Regions from separate parts of the Homo sapiens genome. Here region 2 is linked to region 1. Evidence: promoter capture Hi-C in 16 types of primary human blood cells and fetal thymus (Javierre and others, 2016). All regions are on one chromosome and are shown on one strand. The core of a region is centred on a gene start or on the middle of the fragment in contact, and the rest is flanking DNA. Distances in the headings are between cores, read along the strand shown. Region 1 holds the start of HEYL (hes related family bHLH transcription factor with YRPW motif like). Region 2 has its middle 28 kb from the start of PABPC4.

The links. Contacts are between HindIII fragments. The CHiCAGO score rates a contact against its expected background, and 5 or more counts as called.
Region 2: a contact is called between a fragment that was not itself captured here and the fragment with the promoter of HEYL in region 1, in 1 of 17 cell types (megakaryocytes). The highest score is 7.6, in megakaryocytes.

What each region holds. Positions count from the first base shown.
Region 1 is chr1:39,638,278-39,640,977 of GRCh38, forward strand. It overlaps HEYL (hes related family bHLH transcription factor with YRPW motif like), which reads right to left and starts at 1,366. Exons shown (of 5, transcript NM_014571.4): 1 at 1,269-1,366. The coding sequence starts at 1,348. RefSeq lists silencers at 1,143-1,212, 1,333-1,722. The HindIII fragment of the contact is 7,834 bases long and covers 566-2,700 here.
Region 2 is chr1:39,602,926-39,605,755 of GRCh38, forward strand. No RefSeq gene overlaps it. Among named protein-coding and RNA genes, the nearest start is that of PABPC4, 28 kb to the left of the region's middle. The HindIII fragment of the contact is 753 bases long and covers 1,135-1,887 here.

The DNA of each region.
Region 1 (2,700 bases), core at 116-2,615:
ATGTCCTCAAAAACATCCCTAAGAATTAACTGGGCCTGGCTCACTGGCTTATGTCTGTAATCCCAACACTTTGGGAGGCCAAGGCAGGAGGATCACTTAAGCCCAGGAGATCAAGGTTGCCATGAGCTATGATCATGCCACTGCACTCCAGCATGGGCAACAGAGTGAGACCATGTCAAAAAGAAAGAAAGAAAGAATTAACTGAATTCCCCTCCAATTCTGTTCTAGAGAGTCAAGTCTAGATGAGCCAAGAGAGATGAAGTATATCCCTTTCTTTTCCACTGCTGTCTTTGTTTTACTGATGGGGAAACTGATGACAGACTCTGTCAGGGAAACCAATGGCCCAAGACCACATAGTGAGTTGGTGGCAGATTTGGGGCTGGGACCCAGGTCTGCAGACTCCCAGTCAGCCCTGCAGCTCTTTCAGGGTGCTGGGAATCACATGGTGTGTACCTAGGCATGTGCTGTGCTAAGCCCTTGACATACTTTGCCTCATTTGGTTTTCCCAATATTTCCATGAAGTTGGTTCTATTATTCATGCTCATTTAACAGATAAGGAAACTGAAGCTTAGACAGTTTACAGAACTGCGAGGTAGCAGAACTATACAAGCGCAGTTTGTTCGACAGGTTTGAAGCAGGTCAGACTATCTACCAGGAGCTGAAAGACACTGGCAGTATGGGGGCACGATAGGAGGAACATTGGAATTAGAGTCTAGGCCCTTGCAAGTCGCTTATTATTTTCTTCAATACTAAGTCCCTAAATCCAAACTCCAATTTGCTCAAAGGAGGACAAATTTTCTTCTTCCTGAAATAATTTGTGGACTACATGAAAACTGCATCCAAACTAGGGTAAAATTGGGAAAGGATGGGGTTACTCTGCATCGTCAGCAGATTCCAGACAGGGGCCAGAGTACCATCAGTCTATGAGAGTTTTCTAAGATCTCCAGGGAAAACCTGCCAATGGCCTCCCCTAGGCCACTTCAACAGATAGATGATAACCCACTAGCCACCTGATCCCCCGAGCTGAACTCTCCCTCCCTGCCAGCATCCCCAGCCCTGCACGACCGAGAGCGCGCAGGATCCAGGCACTCGTGCGTGTAACGGCACGGCCCGCACACGCCCCCTACGCCGACACCTGTGGCCCCCGCGCTCACCTGCCTCTGCCCAGGCGGTGCTGGAGGGCTGGCCCGCCTGCTCGGCGAGCCCGTCGGGCCGACCCCCACCCCGCTCGCCCTCCGCCTGCTCGGTCCCCGCATCCCGGCCCTTACCTCAGCTGGCCCTCTTGGCCCACGTCGATGGGTCCGTCGGACTCCCCGTCGGAGCCGCTCGGCTCCTTGGGTCGCTTCATGGCGAACGCAGGCTGCCTGGTCTCAGCCCCGCGGCTAAGGCTCCCAGTCGGGAAGTCAGGCCCCGCCCCGGCCCCGCCCCGGCCCCGCCTCGGGGGCGCCGCCACCGCCCTTTCCCAGGGCCCTTTCCTGCGCCGCAGCTCCGGGCGCCCAGGCGCCCCCTCGCCCCCGCGGTGACGCGCCGCCGAGCCGTGGGAAGGCCCTAGGCGGTCGCCGCCTTCATCGACGGCTGGGAGGTCCGGCTCTGCTCCGCTGTCTCGGCTGCCGCGCGCTGGGTGGCCTTGGGCAGGTGCCCTGGGAGGCCCCGCGGGGAAGCCAGGAGTCCCCGTCTGTCCCTGGGTCGCCTGGGCGCTGCTGGCCTGTAGAGGCGCCGCTTCGATGCCCGGGATTCCGCAAGGGTCAACCCTGCGCGCTCCTGCCTCCTGGTGTTCTGGAGGCAGCAGACACATCAAGTTTGTCGAAGTTAGTCGTGGTGGTTGTGGCCTGATCCTCAGCAAGAATTCCCCAGCAGCAACTCCATAGGGGCCCAAAGCAAGTGGAATAGTGTGGTGGGGGCAAGGGGAAGACACTTACACTTCTGAGAGGTGGCAGTCACCCCCAAAAGGGACGGCTGAAGTTGTGGCCACCGCATCTGAGAAAGCTGGGCTCTGGCCGAGGTCCCTAAAGGCCTGGCGTGGTGGCAGTGGTGGGTTGTCCCTGGGAATCAGTTCCCAGTTCACCAGAGGTCGAGTTGTCCTGGGCGGCCAGGAGGCCAGGAAAGGGCTCCTTCTAGACGCTATGGCAGGGCCTCAAAGTGGGAGAAGGAGAGGAAAAGGGAAGATACCTTCCAGCCTCTCTTCCTGGGGCCTCTGCTTCTGGCAACCCATCAAACTGTTCACTCAGGGAGGGCTCTAGCTGCCCTGTCCTTAGGGGGACTTGTGGGAAGTTCTCAGATTCACCGGTCATCCTCAGGCGCCCAGTACCTCAGAGAAGCTCCTAAGGCTCCAAAGGAAGCTGCATGAGAGCATCCTGGAGCTGGACTTCTTGGGCAGGGAAGAGGAGATAGAGGAGGTCTTGGTGTGCTGGGTTAGATATGAGAGGTCTTTTCCTTTTTACCCGCCACCAGGTCAGGACCTGAGGGAAGCCACCCCTTCAAGTGGGAGAATCGGGTTGGTCATCTGAGAATAACTGTGCTTCCATCCCCACAGCAAGGCCTGCTTGCTGGGGGACACTTGATTACTTGATGGGAAAGAATGTTCCTGTGCCCCCGTCCACACACATCCACAGACACAACCATTTGGCCAGGTATGCAAACACATACACACGGACAGACTTACAAATATATACTGGTAGGCGCAACTGTCGTGAGCAATCA
Region 2 (2,830 bases), core at 261-2,760, 35 kb before region 1:
AGCATGACTGCTGTGTTGTATGGTAAGAGTATGTTTAGTTTTGTATTCCTTTACATTTAAAAATGTTTCATAGTTTTCTGAGAAAACATCTAGCCATCTTTTGTTATATGTATATTTTGTATATTGATCAATGCAGATCAATATGTTACATGTATATTCCTAGGTGCCTTATAATTTTTGTTGCTATTGGAAATGCATTATAAATAATACATTCTTTCTTTTTTTTTTTTTTTGAGACAGATTCTCACTCTGTCGCCAGGCTGGAGTGCAGTGGTGTGATCTCGGCTCACTGCAACCTCTGCCTTCCAGGTACAAGTGATTCTGCTGCCTCAGCCTCCCGAGTAGGTGGGACTACAGGTGTGTGCCACAACGCTCACCTAATTTTTGTATTTTTAGTAGAAACGGGGTTTCACCATGTTGGCCAAGATGGTCTTGATCTCTTGACCTCGTGATCCACCCACCTCGGCCTCCCAAAGTGCTGGGATTACAGGCGTGAGCCACCCCACCCAGCTTTTTTTTGCTTTTTTTTTTTTGAGATGGAGTCTTGCTCTGTCCCCCAGGCTGGAGTGCAGGGGAGCCATCTCGGCTCACTGCAACCTCCGCTGCCCGGGTTCAGGCGATTCTCCTGCCTCAGCCTCCTGAGTAGCTGGGATTACAGGCAAGCACCACCACACCTGGCTAATTTTTGTATTTTTAGCAGAGACAGGGTTTCTCTATGTTGGCCAGGGTGGTCTCAAACTCCTGACCTCGGTGATCCACCCACCTCAGCCTCCCAAAGTGTTGGGATTACAGGTGTGAGCCTCCAAGCCCAGCCACATTGAGAGGTGAAGCCACCTGGACTTCTGGGTTGGGTGGGGACTTGGAGAACTTTTCTGTCTTACAAGAAAATTGTAAAATGCACCAACTGGCACTCTGTAGCTAGGATTGAAAAATGCACCAATCAGCGCTCTGTGGCTAGCTAGAGGTTTGTAAAATGCGCCAATCAGCACACTGTAAAATGGACCAATCAGTGCTCTGTAAAATGAACCCATCAGCAGGACATGGGTGGGGACAAATAAGGGAATAAAAGCTGGCCACCCCCCCCCACCCCAGCCAGCCACCACAACCGGCTTGGGTCCCCTTCCAAGCTGTGGAAGCTTTGTTCTTTCACTTTTCATAATAAAACTCGCTGGTGCTTACTCTTTGGGCCCGTGCCATCTTTAAGAGCTGTAACACTCACCGGGAAGGTCCACAGCTTCATTCTTGAAGTCAGTGAGACCAAGAACCCACCAGAAGGAACCGACTCTGGACACAATATGTTCTTATTTGTTGTTACTCCAATAAGCAATTAACAAGAGTGCTGTCAGAATGTGTGGGATGATCTTGTATTCAACTAACCTGTCAAATACTCTTATCAATTCTAATGCTCTGCATGTAGATTTTTATTTTCCAAATAGAAAATGAATCATGCATATAAGAATGGTGTTACCTCTTCCTACTTCCTAAGCCTCTGATTTCTATTATATTTATTACATTAGCTAGAAATGCCCATCAAATTTTGAATAAAGGGCATTCATATTTTTAACTTTTATGGGAATGCTAGAGTTTCACCGTTGAATTTGATGTTTAGGAATTTGGCAAATATCCTTTATAGGGTTAAGGTATTATCCTACTAATCCTAATTTGCTAAGATTTGAAAAATGAATGAATTCATCAAATGATTATTTATTTAAGTGATTATATACTTTTTATCTTTTAATGTATTAAGGTTCAGAACAGGAATTCTTTCCCTGTTGTTAACCTATCCTTGCATTTTTGGCTAAACTCTACTACATATTTGCTTCTAATTTAGATGTCATATGGATTCTGTTTTATTATTTAGGATGTTTGTATCTATAACCGTAACTAAGCTTGTTCTAAAATGTTCTTACCTTTAATTGCCCTGTCGTGGGCTGATGACAAGGGCATACTAGTATTACAAAACAAGTTAGGCAGTTTTCCCTTCTTTTCCACCCAGTAAAAACAGTTTGTATAAAACAGAATGTATTAGTCAGGGCTCGGCGTGGTGGCTTACGCCTGTAATCCCAGCATTTTGGGAGGCCGAGGCGGGCAGATCATTTGAGGTCAGGAATTTGAGACCAGCCTGGCCAACGTGGTGAAACCCCATCAATACCAAAAATACAAAAATTAGTTGGGTGTGATGGCACATGCTTTTAGTCCCAGCTACTTTGGAAGCTGAGGCACGAGATTCTCTTGATCCCGGGAGGCGGAGGTTGCAGTGAGCCGAGATAGCGCCACTGGACTCCAGCCTGGGTGACAGAGCAAGAGCCTGTCTCGAAAAAAAAAAAAATGTATTAGGGCTCTCCAGAGAAACAGAACCAACAGGACTTATTTTTATTTATTTATTTTTTTTTTGAGATGGAGTCTCGCTCTGTCGCCCAGGCTGGAGTTCAGTGGCACAATCTTGGCTCACTGCAATCTCCACCTCCCGGGTTCAAGCGATTCTCTTGCCTCAGCCTCCCGAGTAGCTGGGACTACAGGCGCCTGCCACCAGGCCCAGCTAATTTTTGTATTTTTAGTAGAGACTGGGTTTCATCATATTGCCCAGGCTGGTCTTGAACTCGTGACCTTGTCATCCGCCCACCTTGGCCTCCCAAAGTGCTGGGATTACAAGCGTGAGCCACTGCACCCGGCCAGGACCCATTTATTTATTATGAGAAACTGGCTTATGTGATTATGAAGGTTGAGAAGTCCCAAGATCTGCAGTTAGCAAGCTGGAGACCCAGGAGAGCCAATGTGTGTTCCAGTCTGAAAGTCTACTGGCTTGAGATCCAAGAAAAGCCAATGTTTC